Linked DNA regions of Homo sapiens: all the other regions are linked to region 1. Evidence: promoter capture Hi-C in 16 types of primary human blood cells and fetal thymus (Javierre and others, 2016). All regions are on one chromosome and are shown on one strand. The core of a region is centred on a gene start or on the middle of the fragment in contact, and the rest is flanking DNA. Distances in the headings are between cores, read along the strand shown.

Evidence for each region. The method cuts DNA at HindIII sites, captures the fragments that hold promoters and counts their contacts. A CHiCAGO score of 5 or more calls a contact.
Region 2: a contact is called between a fragment that was not itself captured here and the fragment with the promoter of NSD3 in region 1, in 1 of 17 cell types (naive CD8 T cells). The highest score is 5.8, in naive CD8 T cells.
Region 3: a contact is called between a fragment that was not itself captured here and the fragment with the promoter of NSD3 in region 1, in 1 of 17 cell types (naive CD8 T cells). The highest score is 5.4, in naive CD8 T cells.

What each region holds. Positions count from the first base shown.
Region 1 is chr8:38,379,452-38,384,083 of GRCh38, reverse strand. It overlaps NSD3 (nuclear receptor binding SET domain protein 3), which reads left to right and starts at 1,813. Exons shown (of 24, transcript NM_023034.2): 1 at 1,813-2,285. It also overlaps a transcript of LETM2 not described here. RefSeq lists silencers at 907-1,256, 1,447-1,596, 1,627-2,026 and enhancers at 1,675-2,465, 2,756-3,290. The HindIII fragment of the contact is 5,398 bases long and covers 1-4,420 here.
Region 2 is chr8:42,892,112-42,896,743 of GRCh38, reverse strand. RNF170 (ring finger protein 170) reads left to right here and starts at 139. Exons shown (of 7, transcript NM_030954.4): 1 at 139-260. MIR4469 (microRNA 4469) reads left to right here and starts at 469; the gene lies at 469-547. RefSeq lists silencers at 1-7, 188-547, 343-554 and an enhancer at 461-1,022. The HindIII fragment of the contact is 264 bases long and covers 2,508-2,771 here.
Region 3 is chr8:42,145,411-42,150,042 of GRCh38, reverse strand. No RefSeq gene overlaps it. Among named protein-coding and RNA genes, the nearest start is that of AP3M2, 5.3 kb to the left of the region's middle. The HindIII fragment of the contact is 901 bases long and covers 2,114-3,014 here.

The DNA.
Region 1 (4,632 bases), core at 564-3,063:
CTTGGTGGCCCGCTTTGGCCATCTGTGTTTTAAAATGTCATATCACAAATAAAAAGTATGCTTTTACTGATAGCTGTAACTTGTGGTACTACTTAAAGCATACGTTTAAAAATATTTAATGATTAATAGTAATGAGATTTTTTTTTTTTTTTTTGAGACATAGCCTCTCTGTGTCGCCCAGGCTGGAGTGCAGTGGCGCGATCTCGGCTCACTGCAAGCTCCGCTTCCCGGGTTCACGCCATTCTCCTGCCTCAGCCTCCTGAGTAGCTGGGACTACAGGCGCCCCCCACCACGCCCGGCTAATTTTTTGTATTTTTAGTAGAGACGGGGTTTCACCGTCTTAGCCAGGATGGTCTCGATTTCCGGACCTCGTGATCCGCCTGCCTCGGCCTCCCAAAGTGCTGGGATTACAGGCGTGAGCCACTGCGCCCAGCCAATACTGATAATTCTCAGTATCTAGTATTAACCGGGTTACGTTTAAAAAAAATAGTTCATAATTAGTGCCCTTTTAAATAACTGATCTGTAGAAATCATTTAATTTCCTTAAGTGATATTTAAAGATAGAGATATCTAATTTCTTGTAATAGTACCAAAGACATCCAGCACTATAACGTCTACAGAGTATGACGTCTAGCGGTAAAATGGCTTTATTCTCAGAACAGAGTATCGGTTTCCTCATTTGCTTGCTGCCTCTGTTTCCTTTTTACGTTCACGTCTCTGTGCTGTAACCTTCCAAATCCTTATCACCAGGCCCCAGGAAATATCACCTGGTCGGCACACTCCTGCAGGGCCAGATCACTGTGCACACACTTAACCTTCCATTGTTTTCCATACGTTTCCTAGGATGCGGGGGGCTAGAGGATGACGGAGAGTTGCCTCCCGGTTCTTCCTCTCGTTCTTATCTTGGGCCCTCTAGGACAAATGTCCCTCACGTCCCTCGATGCGAAGGTCTGGCCGCGAGCAGCCGCGGCCTCCGGCACGTGACGGTCACGGAGCCGTCGCGGTCCCCCGCGGCTGGGGGGCACCCGGGGATGCGGCGGGCGCTGACGTCGTCCTCCCGGTTACCCACAAGCCTCCGGGCCGCAGCAGAGCAGGAAGAGGCGCGCGGGGCCGGCGCCTGCCGGGGAGGTCGAGGCGCTCCCTCGGCGAGCCGGCGCCGCCGGCCGGGTCTCCTACTGCTTGCAACCGGGGGAGGGGGACCATCCGACAGCTCAGCCGGGGCTGAGAGGGAGACGACGCCAAGGCGGTCTTGCATCGCCCCCGGCTTTCCAAATGCAGACCCTACCGGAACCGGAGCCCTTCCCTGACAGCCGTAGGACGGGAGACGGCCGAGGGGTCGCCTGGACTGCCCCGCCCTCGCGCGGTGACCCACCGGGGACCGTGCGAGGGTCGCTTCTAACCCTTAAGAGCTAGAGAGCCGAGTCACCCTGAGGAGCGCCGTATGGCGCTGGTTGCGCGTTGTTCTTTAATCAGCCTCACTGAACGCGCCGATCCCAGTTTTACCTCCCGGGCCCCACCTTTCCACGCCTCCTCCGGCTTCCCGGGGTGTTTTGTGTGTCACTCTCCCACGTACAGTCCCTCCCCGTCCCTCGTTCCTCGGCCCTCTCGCCCGGTCTCCCTAGTCGTCCAGACGCTAGCTGCCGCGGGCGTTCCTGGTTCGCGCTCCCGCCCCCTCCGCCCCGCCGACTCGCCGCTTCCTCCGGAGCCCCAGCGTCCCGAACCAGGGACTGCATTTCCCGGCAGGCGCCGCGGCCCGCGGCCAATGAGGGGCTGAGGATTTGGCGGCGGCGGCGCCCCGAGAGTCGGGGTGGGGGGGCTTTGTGCGCGGCGGCGGCGGGAGAGGCGGCGGCGGCGGCCAGCACGGAGGCGGAGGCCGAGGGGGCTGTGCACAGGTCGCCGCGGAGAGGCGTGCGAATTCCGAGCCGAGCGCCGAGGACCGTGCTACCCAGGCCGGGCTGCCAGCCGCAGGCTCCTCTCTGGCAGCAGCGGCGGCGCGGCGACCCCCGTCCCTCGGCCTCCCCTTCCCATCCCACCTCCCGAGCCTTCCTCTTCCCGCAGCACGCCCGGCCCGGCCCGGCCGTGGCCCTCCTCAGTGCCGGCCGCCATGGCAGAGGCGTCCGGCGCGGGGAAAATCTAGCCCGGGGATTTCATGCGGCCTAGCTCGGTTCCGCCTCCTCCTCGCGCGGCCCCAGCGGCTGCCCGCACCCCAGCCCCACTCCGGGCCTCCGTGTCTCTCCTGTGATCGCACTGACACGGCCGGGGGGTTAGAATGGAACAAACTGAAGGTAAAGTGCGTGTGCGTGTGTGTATGTGTGTGTGTGTGTGTGTGTGTGTGTGCGCGCGCGCGCGTGTGTAGTGCTAGGAAGGGCTGAGGAGGGAACGACGGGGAGGGGGCGACCTAGGGATGGAGCGCCAGACCCCAGGAGGAATGGAAGGGGAAGCGGGTGGCCTGAAAGGGCTCGAGGGGAGTCCTGACGGAGGAGCAGATGGCAAGGTGGGGGGTGTGGAGGGAATTGGGGGGTGGGCCAGGGGAGGTGGGGAGTGGGATGGGAGTCGGAGTGGCGCTGAGCTGGGAATTGGGAAAGTGGGATGGGGGCGGGGATAAGGATGGATCGGGGAGGGGCAGGGAAAGGGGAGAAGAGTTGCATGGAGATTACAGACCTGGGTGGACTGATAAATAGGGAGATTTGGGGATGGAGTGTAGGAACCAGAAGAGTCTGGGAGAAGGGGATAAATTTGCTGGAGAAATGGGGCATTTTATGGGAATGAAGGGAGAAATGAGGAATGGAAGTGAAGGAAAAGGTGGATTAGGAAAGGGGATGAGGCAGGCTGCAATAGGAGAATGGGAAATAGACGCAGGAAACTGGAAGACAGGATTGGGCTAGGGAAGGAAATTAACTGAATGATGACAGGGATGAGAACGATCGACTTAGCGTCAGAGTGGGAGGAAGAGAAGGGGATGGAGGTCGTTAAAGTGTTAGGAAGGGAGGCCTTTTGTTCCTGTATTTGTGTGTATTCTGTGTCTTTCTTTCAAGGCTAGAGAATAGAGAAGCTGGTGGTTATGGGATTGTGATTGTTGTGAAATGGGGAGGTGTGGGTTTTACTGTTTTGAGGGAGAAGGCGATGTGTTTGTGTTATGGAAGGGAGGCAGGGAGAGACATGGCCATAATTTGATGGTTTTGGGGAGGGAGTGAAGATTATTTCGATTTAAAGGGGGCAGGGGCAGCCATGTTTGCTGCCAAGGCACTGCAGTGTAAATAAATTCCTTTTCCTCTCCGACATCAGTATGAATCTGGAAGGGGCCAATTCAGACTGTTAGCCCCCTTTCTTTCTATTCATGAACTCTTTTCCCCTTACGTCTTGGGTCATTTTAAATTATTCATAACCGCCAAAGGAGGTAGTGATGTTTTCCATCACTACCTTTTTGATGCTTTTCTCCCTCTCTTTACCCTCTTCCTTCTGGTTGCAAACAAGGTATGCTAATGAGCTGCAGTGTAAATTTAACCCATTTAATCAATTTAAAACTAGATTTTTACTAGCTGAAGGAATCATTACTACGCTTACATATCAAACATGATCGTGAAGTCTTTTACGTATTGAAAATTCGTTTGTTTCGGAAGCCTCAGAAGCAGTCAACATGTTTTCTGCAATTCTTTAAGTAAACAAGGAAATTGCATCGGTTATTTTACTTGGGCCTGTGCTCTTGGCAAAGCGCTGTGTCCGGGTGAAAGGGGTAGGAAGCTCTGCTTGTGGTAGATTATCGGCTTGCTGTATTTTGAATGTTGAAAAATTAGAAATGTATGTATTTTTAAATAGTATTTCTGATAGCTCTTGCTTATAGGTGATGAGCGTGTTAAGTGATGAGTGTGTTAAGAATAGTATTTTCTTTTTTAAATAAACTCTCTTTTCCCCATCTCTTCTCTTTGCCTTCATGTAGCTGGCTCAATACAATCTCCAGATGCCAGTTCAGCACAGTGCAATGATCTGTGAAGTAGGCATGCAGTTCTTAGAGTCTCATTGAGATGCCAGGGTTTTTTTGTTGTTGTTTTGTTTGTTCGTTTTTTGATTGAAACTTCAGTTGACTCTCAGGAAACTACAGTAACTAATATATTCAACTGTAACTACTTGTACAATTTGAAATAATTACTATTCTAAGGTTTAAATCCTGACAAATTTACAGAACATACATTGGTGTTAAGTAGAGCCTATTTTATTTCATATTGGATTAAATGTGTGTGTGACCTTTTGTTTTTATTATAGCAGTTGGAGTAATCCAAACTTTAACCTATCACATTGATATTGAAACTGTTCTCTAATACCAAGAAGGCCTGTTAACATTGTAATATGGTGGACTCAAACCAGTTGAACTACATTTAACCTACCTAAATGGCAACATCCTCTCAGTTGTTATACAGAAGCTTAGGATATATTCTTGGTTTGTTAGAAAAATGAAATTGAATGTTGTTAAAGTGGTACTTTGTAAATCTGGCTTTTACACTAAAAGCACCCTCTCAGCTTGTAGTATTTTAATTTGATAATATTCAGCCTGAATTTGTTTGAAATTCTGTGAGGAACAGTTGCATTAAAAAAAAAATTCAGCATGCTTTTTCTGGAATTTATTTTTATGGCAAT
Region 2 (4,632 bases), core at 1,390-3,889, 4.5 Mb before region 1:
CCGGGCGCGCCCCCGCCACCAGTTCGCTGCGTGTCGAGGCGAGCACGCGCTCCGCCCTGGAGGCTGCGGCGACGGGTCCTCCTCCGCCGTCCGGTCGCGCCCTCGCGGAAGCTCGGCAGTGCGCGTGCGCCCGCACCCGCACTCCAAATTAGAAAGGGGACGTCTAGTGGGTTGCCCGGGAGGGGTGGCGGGAGCGGTCCTGGAAATAATCTGTCCTCTGTCGCCGGGAACTGGCGAGGTAGTTCCTTCGCGGTGGAGAGGTACGTCCGGCGCGCGGCGGCCACGCCCACCCTATCGGGGCCCGCGGAGCCGCGGACGGCGGGGTCTGGCCTTCTTGGGGTAGCTCTGGCCGCCGAGGCTCTGCGGGGCGGCGGGAGTCGCCGCCTCCTTCCCCCCGGGCCCCTCCCTCGTCTGGAAGCCCCAGAATCGCCCCGCGGCTGTCCGGAGTCGCCGGCGACGGTGGAGGGGCCGACGCGGAGAGCGGCTCTAGGTGGGTTTGGCGGCGGCGAGGACACCGCCGCTCCCTCTAGGGTCGCTCGGAGCGTGACCCTGAGAACTCTCCTTAATGCAGGAGGGGTGTGCGCCCGCTCGCCAATCCGTAAGGACACCGGCCGACCCCGGGCCTGCGTTTCTCAGCGTTCGGAGTTGCCTTCGCTTAATGGCGAGGCGGATCGTTCTGGAGCTTCCACCTCTTTAGAGGCACGAATCTGTCTGCTGGGCTGCCGATAAATTTTTAACAGATATAGCATACGCAGAAAAGTGCATACGACATACACGTTTAAAGAAGAATTAATAAAACACCCAGATAAAAACGAAAAGGGCATTACCGGCACCCCAGGAGTTTCTCACCCATGCCCTGTGCTCCTTTCGGAGCCTGATTGTCTCCTAGCCTGACTAGTGTGATCATTTCCTTACAGCTTTACCATCTATGTGTGCATGCGATGTCGTTTTCCTTTGCCTGTTTTTGAACTTTTGCGGGTGGATCACAGTGTGTTGTTTTGTGGTTTTCAATCAGTATTAAATTGGTGTACTGTGTATGTATAGGTAATTTTAATTGTTGCCTAGTATTCCAGTGTGAATAGAACAGTGAATCCATTCTACTCTGGTTGGGCATTTTGTTCAGACTGAGGCCACTCAGAACATGGCTATAAACATTCTAGTGTACCTGGAACGTAGTGCAAATATGTTGGAATTTCCAGGACATGCACTTTGGAGTCCTTAGAGAATTGTCGATGCGTAGAGTATGCATAACTACCACCCAATGCCAAATTTTTATTTGGAGTGCAACAAAGCTAACTTCCCAAGACACACTTTGCTTTGTAGTTCCTGGAACCCCTTTCCCCCACTTTTTTTCCATTAAGAGTAGGTTTTCTCATTGAGCACTGAAAACTGCCAAGACAGCATTGAGTGGGGTTTTTTGTTGTTGTTGATGGTGGTTTTTGAGAAAGGGTCTCGTTCTGGAGTGCAGTGGCGCAATCTTGGTTCACTGCAACCTCTGCCTCCTGGGCTCAAGTGATCCTCCTACCTCAGCCTCCCAAGTAGCTGGAACCACAGGTGCAGGCCACGATGCTCAGCTAATTTTCTTATTTTTTGTAGAGAGGGGGTCTCGCTATGTTGCCCAGGCTGGTCTCAAATTCCTGGGCTCAAGTGATCCGCCCGCCTTAGCCTCCCAAAAGTGCTGGGATCAAAAGTGTGAGCCACCGAGCCTGGGTCAGCAGTGAGTTTTTAAGGTTGCCTTACAGAGTACCACTTGATAGTTGACCCCTGATCATTTAGCATTTTGTAAGTGTAAAAAAAAAAAAACTTACCTGAAGTATTCTCAATGGTCTTTTTTTCAAACATTCTTCCCTACACCAAGGGCAGAGAAACCTTTAGAAATTACACATACGTGGCCAGGCGCGGTGTCTCGCGCCTGTAATCCCAGCACTTTGGGAGGCCGAGGCGAGCGGATCACGATGTCAAGAGATCCTGGCCAACATGGTGAAACCCCGTCTCTACTAAAAATACAAAAATTAGCCGGGCGTGGTGGCGGGCTCCTGTAGTCCCAGCTACTCGGGAGGCTGAGGCAGGAGAATCGCTTGAACGCGGGAGGCTGAGGTTGCAGTGAGCCGAGATCGCGCCACTGCACTCCATCCTGACGACAGAACGAGAATCTGTCTCAAAAGAAAAAAAAAATTACACATGTGTGTCTCGCCTGTGTTTGGTTCCTGTGTTGGTGCCTCTGGATATTTGTCAAACTAGAGTTCCTACATTCCTTATCAGGTTATTTCTGTCGAATCTCTAGCACTTTTAAGTGACGTATAATCTTGTAGGCAAGTGAATGAAGTCAGTGAGTATATGTCACATTGACTTACTCCTGACTCACATGCAGCTTGTCTTTAGATGGGCAGATAAGATGCTGGCCCTACTGGAGCGACTGTGGTTGTGCCGTCCTGAGCACCCTTCCTCCAGTGGCCCCGGTTTTCAAGGCTTTGACACAATGGACCTAAAGTCTCCTTTTTCAAGCTTGGCTGCATATCCACAGTGCTTTTGTGCATGATGTTACGTTGTTCTGGAGGTTTCATTTTGTAATTCCAGTTACCTTTGATGAAAGAAATTAGTAAAAACTTTTTGGATGTGAGTAATTGCAGAAGCCATGTGGCTGCTGAGTTTCTACGTAAGCCTTGGGGTAAAAAGACACTGAGATTCTCTCCTTTGTTCCAGGAAGTCCCGGAATTTCCTATTTTTCTATTTTCTCTGTGTGTTTTATTTTTTTTCCTTCCCTGAAAGCTTTGGAAATGCCTGAGGAGAGGTGAGTTGAACTTGTCTTAGCTGTCTGGTTACTCCGGTTAGTTGGAGGCTAGTTCTCACCCACAGCTGCTTATCAGATTAAAGAGGGCATGTCCTGTGTGACAGTGCTCCAGATTGCATCCTGTCTTCCCAGGGAACACATACTTAGAGCTGTGATTAAAGAGAGTTTGAGATGCTATGTGGAGCAGCTCTGGGGCAGGCATGGCTAGTTTTTATCATATCAAAACATGGCTAGTTTTATCATGATTCCTTGGCGGTTGTTAATAATATTAACCAAACACTGTAGCTTCCATTTACTGAGAGCCTATATGATGTGCCAAGCAGTATGCTAAATGCCTTACCTTCATTATCTCATTATAAACTTCACAAGGCAAAGCACTTCCCCTGCCACACCCGCCCCAAAAAAGAGTGGCAGTTTGATATGGTTCAACCTAATGCCTTTTACGTATGAGGAAGCTGAGACTGAAACTTTATGTAAGTCCAGGGCTGTCTGACTCTGGAACTTGTGCTTGTTTGCTGTCTGAAGATACTGCTCAATAAGATGTAGCCAGCTGAGCAATAGCAAAGCCAGTTTCTCTGCAAACTTCTATCAGTTACACTGCACAGTTTCCAAGATGGATGGGGTTCAGTTTTTGTGAATCTTAAACAGTTCAAAACCGAGTATTAGTAACTCTTCTTTTCATATTTTACAGGATACCATGAAATAGATTACATCCCATGTTCTATACATTTAATAACCTTGTTTTTGGGTTTAATGTAAACAACCTTTAGTGGCCACTACAACATGTAAGACCCTGCGCACTACTAACAGTAATAAGATATGATTCCTGACTGAAAGGAATTCATTCTTTAAAAATGTATTTTTAATTTTTATAGATGTATAATAGTTGTACATATTTATGGGGTACCTGTGGTATTTTTATACAAATATGTACAATGTGTAATGATCAAATCTGGGCAGTTTTTTGAGACAAGGTCTTGTTCTGTCACCGAGGCTGGAGTGCAGTGGTGCGATCTTGGCTCACTGCAACCTCTGCCCCCCAGGTTCAAGCAATTCTCATGCCTCAGCCTCCCGAGTAGCTGGGATCACAGGCGTGTGCCACCACGTCTGGCTAATTTTTGTATTTTTAGTAAAGATGGCGTTTCACCATGTTGGCCAGGCTGGTCTCAAACTCCTGGCTTCAAGTGATCCACCCACCTTGGCATCCCAAAATGCTGTGATTACAGGCGTGAATCACAGCACTGGCCTGAATCTAGGGTTTAAAAAAAAAAAAAAAAACGCTGCAACAGAGCCTCCAAATAACATGAAAAAATAAATCCAGTAAGATATTACTTTATATGCTTGGAACTAAGTGCTTAACATTCTGTGATTAATAATAATAAAATTTTGAGGGTGAAGCAATTGAGCACAGTATCTACATATTCTAAAACTGAACTGTAGTCACTTGTGGATTCTGTAAATATTTGGCACCAATAAACATTAATTTTTGGCTGGGCGTGCTACCTCACGCCTATAATCCTAGCACTTTGGGAGGCCTAGGTGGGTAAATTCCTTGACCCCAGGAGTTGGAGACCAGCTTGGGCAAGATGGTGAAACCCATCTCTACAAAAAATAAAACATTTAACTGAGCTTAGTGGTGCACACCTGTAGTCACAGCAGGAAGACTGATTGAGCCTGGGAGGTCGAGGCTGCAGTGAGCCAAGGGTGCACCACTGCACTCCAGCCTGGGTGACAGAACAAGACCCTGTCTCAAAAAATAAATTTTAAAAATTTATAAACATTAATTTGAGCAATATCTGTTTTTCAAGAAGGAAATTTGTGGTGTAGTGAGAGTGTTTAGC
Region 3 (4,632 bases), core at 1,315-3,814, 3.8 Mb before region 1:
AGGAGTTCGAGACCAGCCTGGCCAACATGGTGAAACCCTGTCTCTACTAAAAATACAAAAATTAGCCGGGTGTGGTGGCGAACACCTGTAATCCCAGCTACTCGGAAGGCTGAGACAAAAGAATTGCTTGAACCTGGGAGGTGGAAGTTGCAGTGAGCCAAGATTGTGCCACTGCACTCCAGCCTGGGCAATAAGGCAAGACTCCGTCTCAAAAAAAAAAAAAAAGCAATCACAAATCTGATAATGTTTTAAGAGAGTTTATGAGTTTGTGTTGGGCTGCATTCAGAGCTATCCTGGGCCGCATGCAGCCTATGGGCCTTGGGCTGGACAAGCTTGCTATAAAGGAATACCTGAGACTCGGTAATTTATAATATTAAAAAAAAAGAGGTTTATTTGGCTCATGGTTCTGTAGGCTATGCAAGCGTGGCACCAGCATCTGCTCAGCTTCTGGTGAGGCCTCAGGAAGCTTTTACTCATGGCAGAAGGTGAAAGGGGAGCGGGCAGTTGCATGGTGAAAGCAGGAGTGAGAGAGAGGAGGTGCCAGGCTCCTTTAAACAACCAGCTCTCTCATAAACCAACAGAGTGAGAACTCACTCATTACCATGGGGAGGGCACCAAGCCATTCACGAGGGATCCAACCCCATGACACCTGCTAGACCCACCTCCAAAACTGGGGATCACATTTCAACATGAGATTTGGAGGGGACAAACATCCAAAGTATATCAATATATCTGTGAGCTCCATTAACTATCCAAGTGGAGATGTTGAGAAGGCAGCTGGACATATAAGTCCAGGGTTCAGGAGAGTGGGCTGAGCTTGAGATATAAATTTGGGTGTTTTCAGTATATGGATATTTAAAGTAGTAGGACCTGTTGAGATGACCGAGGGAAGGAGTGTGGAGAGATAAGAGAACCAGATTCCAGGGACACTCCAAATTTAAGAGTTCACATAAGAGAGGAGGATCTGAAATCATTTAATCCCCCCAACTACTCTAAAATGAATTACCGTTGTGATCCCCTTTTCGTAGATGAGGAAGCTGCAAAGACAGCTTAAATAACTGCCCAAGGTCGAACAGCAAAGCTGTGATTCAAGGACGTTGGAAGATCTGAGCAGAATGGCTCAGATTCCACACTTCCTACCTCTAAGCCCAGGAACCCATTGAAGAAATGTGAAGCAGGAGAGTGGCACACTTTCAGATTTCCATTTCAGAAAGACTATGTGTGCAGGATGGACTGTAACAGGCTGAGCCTGGAGGCTGGGAGGTTATTTAGACAATTGCAGTAATCCCTAGGAGAGAGCTAGTGCCTGGAGCCATGAGGCAGGGATTAGAGAGAAGTGGACACCTTCCAGAGAAGATAGGGATTAGGGATTAATGGAATGTCAGTGGTGAGGCAGAGTAGGTTTCTGATTCGGGCAATGACATGGATGGAAGCATCATGTGTTGAGATGGGGATCACTGGAAGAGAGGCCCCTTGCGGGGAGGGCGCATGAATCCAGTATATAGCAATGCCTGGGGGCATGAACCAAGTTGACACTCAAGTGTTTGTTGAATTGAATCAAGTAACATAGAATCTGAGAGCTCATGTAATACTTTCCCATGACTTTAAGAGAGGCCACAGGAAATCATTGACAAATGATAAGTCAGTCTATTTTGTGCATAAAAATCTCTAGGGAAAGATTTCCTAAAGCTGCCACTCACAAACCATTCTAATGTTTAACAGCTCTCACTGCTGAGAAATTTTTCTACCATAAAAAGTTAATCCTAGCTATCAGGATTCACTGGGAACCATTTATTTATTTATTTATTTATATTTCATTTTTGGTCTGAGACAAGAGAGGCCTTGCCCACCCAGAAAGACATTTTTTTCAGAGCTGCAACATCATTTCTGCGTCTTTGCCACTTCCTCCCTGTTCACACGTATGCTCTCCTTGCAACACACCTCACTACCGGTCATGCACTGAAGCAATGGAATGCCTTCTCCTCATGCCTCCCTTCTCACGGAGCCCTCTACCTGGCACATGTTTGTCTTTTACTCATCCTATTTTGGAAATTCGCTCCAGCCCGCAAGGCCCAGCCATATGTTTCCTCCTCCACAAAGTCTGTTTGAAGCTTCTTGCCCCCACACTGGGAGTAATGTTTCCCTCCTCTGTGATCAAAGAGCATTTCCCAGCTCTTTCATGTAACCTACAGAGCGGGCACACTCTGCCATGCATCAACATGTGCATCTGCTGACCAAATCTGGATTCTAAGCTCTTTGGGAAACCACAGTGTGTCTCACAATGTCTAGTGAACAATCACCTATTAAACTAACAGTGATGGAGTGCTTACAACCTCCTGGACACTGCGGGTACAAAGATGCGGTACTCTATGTTACTTCAAGGAACATACAGTCAAGTGGAGGGGGGATTTAAAGTGTAGACTGCTCCCCTTATCAAAACCAGGCCGGGCGCCGTGGCTCACACCTGTAATCCCAGCACTTTGGGAGGCCAAGGCGGGTGGATCACCTGAAGTCAAGAGTTCGAGACCAGCCTGGCCAACATGGTGAAACCTTGTCTCTACTAAAAATAGAAAAAAAAAAAATTAGCCCAGTGTGGTGGCATGCACCTATAGTCCCAGCTACTCGGGGAGGCTGAGGCAGGAGAATCACTTGAACCCAGGAGGCAGAAGTTGCAGTGAGCCAAGATCACGCCACTGCACTCCAGCCTGGGCCACAGAGGGAGACTCCATCTCAAAAAAAAAAAAAAAAAAAAACCAGCTCCTTTAAGCCTGGCCATGAAAGGAGCCTGTCCATGTGGAGAGGAGAGACTGAACCTGACGCCCTACTCTAGAAAAAGAGATCCGCTTTCCCCTTAGGGACCTCTCACTGCTGGCTGCAGCTCCCACCACCATACTGGTTTTGGGAGGGTCAGTATCCCTTTAACTCTTCAATGGCATTTAAGACACACTATTTTTTGTTGTTTGTTTAATTTCCTATAGCAGAGCAGAGACCAGGATGGACATTTATCCAAAGCTTGTCTAAAGACTTGAAGATAGGCCGAGCACAGTGGCTCACGCCTGTAATCCCAACATTTTGGGAGACAGAGGTGGGCGGATCACTTGAGGTCAGGAGTTCGAGACCAGCCTGGCCAACCCATTTCTACTAAAAATACAAAAATTAGCTGGGCATGGTGGCGGCCACCTGTAATCCCAGCTACTCGGGAGGCCGAGGCATGAGAATGGCTTGAACCTGGAAGGCAGAGTTTGCAGTGAGCCAAGATCGTGCCATTGCACTCCAGCCTGGGTGATAGAACGAGACTCAGTCTCAAAAAAAAAAAAAAAAAAGACTTGAAGATAACAGAAAGGAAGTGAGCAGAAAGAGTAACATGCAACTAAAAATGTAGCTCACAAATGTGATCCAATCCGGGCATCTTAGATGTCTCTATGGGATGCACACCTGCTTCCAGGGGACAGGGATGCTGTGTACCTCCTCTCACCTAGGAGCCCCGGCAAGCCATCTGGAGTTCCTGAAATCCAAACCTTGTCTGACAAGGAGACAGCAGCCTCCCTCTCCTGGTGGCCTCAGGCTGGCCTCCTGGTTCCAGTCTCCTGAGGGACATAATTATTGCACCAAATGGTCCCTTCCCCAGATGATTAGCCACAAGAATATCCAATCATGAGGCCACACCCTCACCTCAGGGGCATGGCATTATTCTGTGGCTTGTTAGTAGACGCTCCGCGGTTCTTTCTCTGCACTCTCCCTAGATGGCTTCATGAGTGTAATACCCTTTTAATGATGACAGCTCTCGATGTATCTCCAACCTCAACTGTTTTCCCCAGCTTAGTAAACAATACCACCATCCATCCAGCTACTCAAACCCATGAGTCATCCTCAAGTCCTCCATTACCCTCATCCCCTCATGTAATCAGAAGCATACCCTGTGGATTCTATCTTCAATGTACATCAGGAATTCAGAATCTCTCCAATGCAATGTCATCACTTTAGTCCAGGCCACAATCACCACTTCCCTGAAAGATGATAACCGCTGCCATACTGGTCTCCCATTTCTACTCTCACCCCTCCAATCCATTTTCTATACAGCAGCAAAAGTGAGCTTTTAAAACTGTAAACAGTTATGTGCAGCTTGGAACCCATCAATGCATTCCCATGGCATTAAATCAAAAATGCCTTTACTACTTCTTTTTTTTCCCCGCTTAGAGTCAGGGTCTCACTGTGTTGCCCAGGCTGGAGTGCAGTGATGTGATCATAACTCATTGCAGCCTTGAACTCCTGGACTCAAGCAATACTCCCGCTTCAGCCTCCTGAGTAAATGGGACTACAGGCATGCCACCACACCTGACTACCTTTAACACTTATCTGTCCTCTCGATCTCTCCAGTTGAATCTCTTGCCACACCCCTCCACCACTCACCCCCACTCTCAGCTCTGGGCCTAGAATATGCTCTTTCCTCTGTTTGGAAGCTCCTGTTCTTCCTTTAAGTCTTCCTTTATGGTACCTTCTCAGGGAGTCTTCCATTAAGCACCTTGTCTAAATCTACCCCCCATCTTTGTCTTCCTCTACCACCCTAAGTATTCTGTCTCTATTCTTTATAATACCCATCGAAGCTTGTAATTACTGTGTTTATTTATCTGT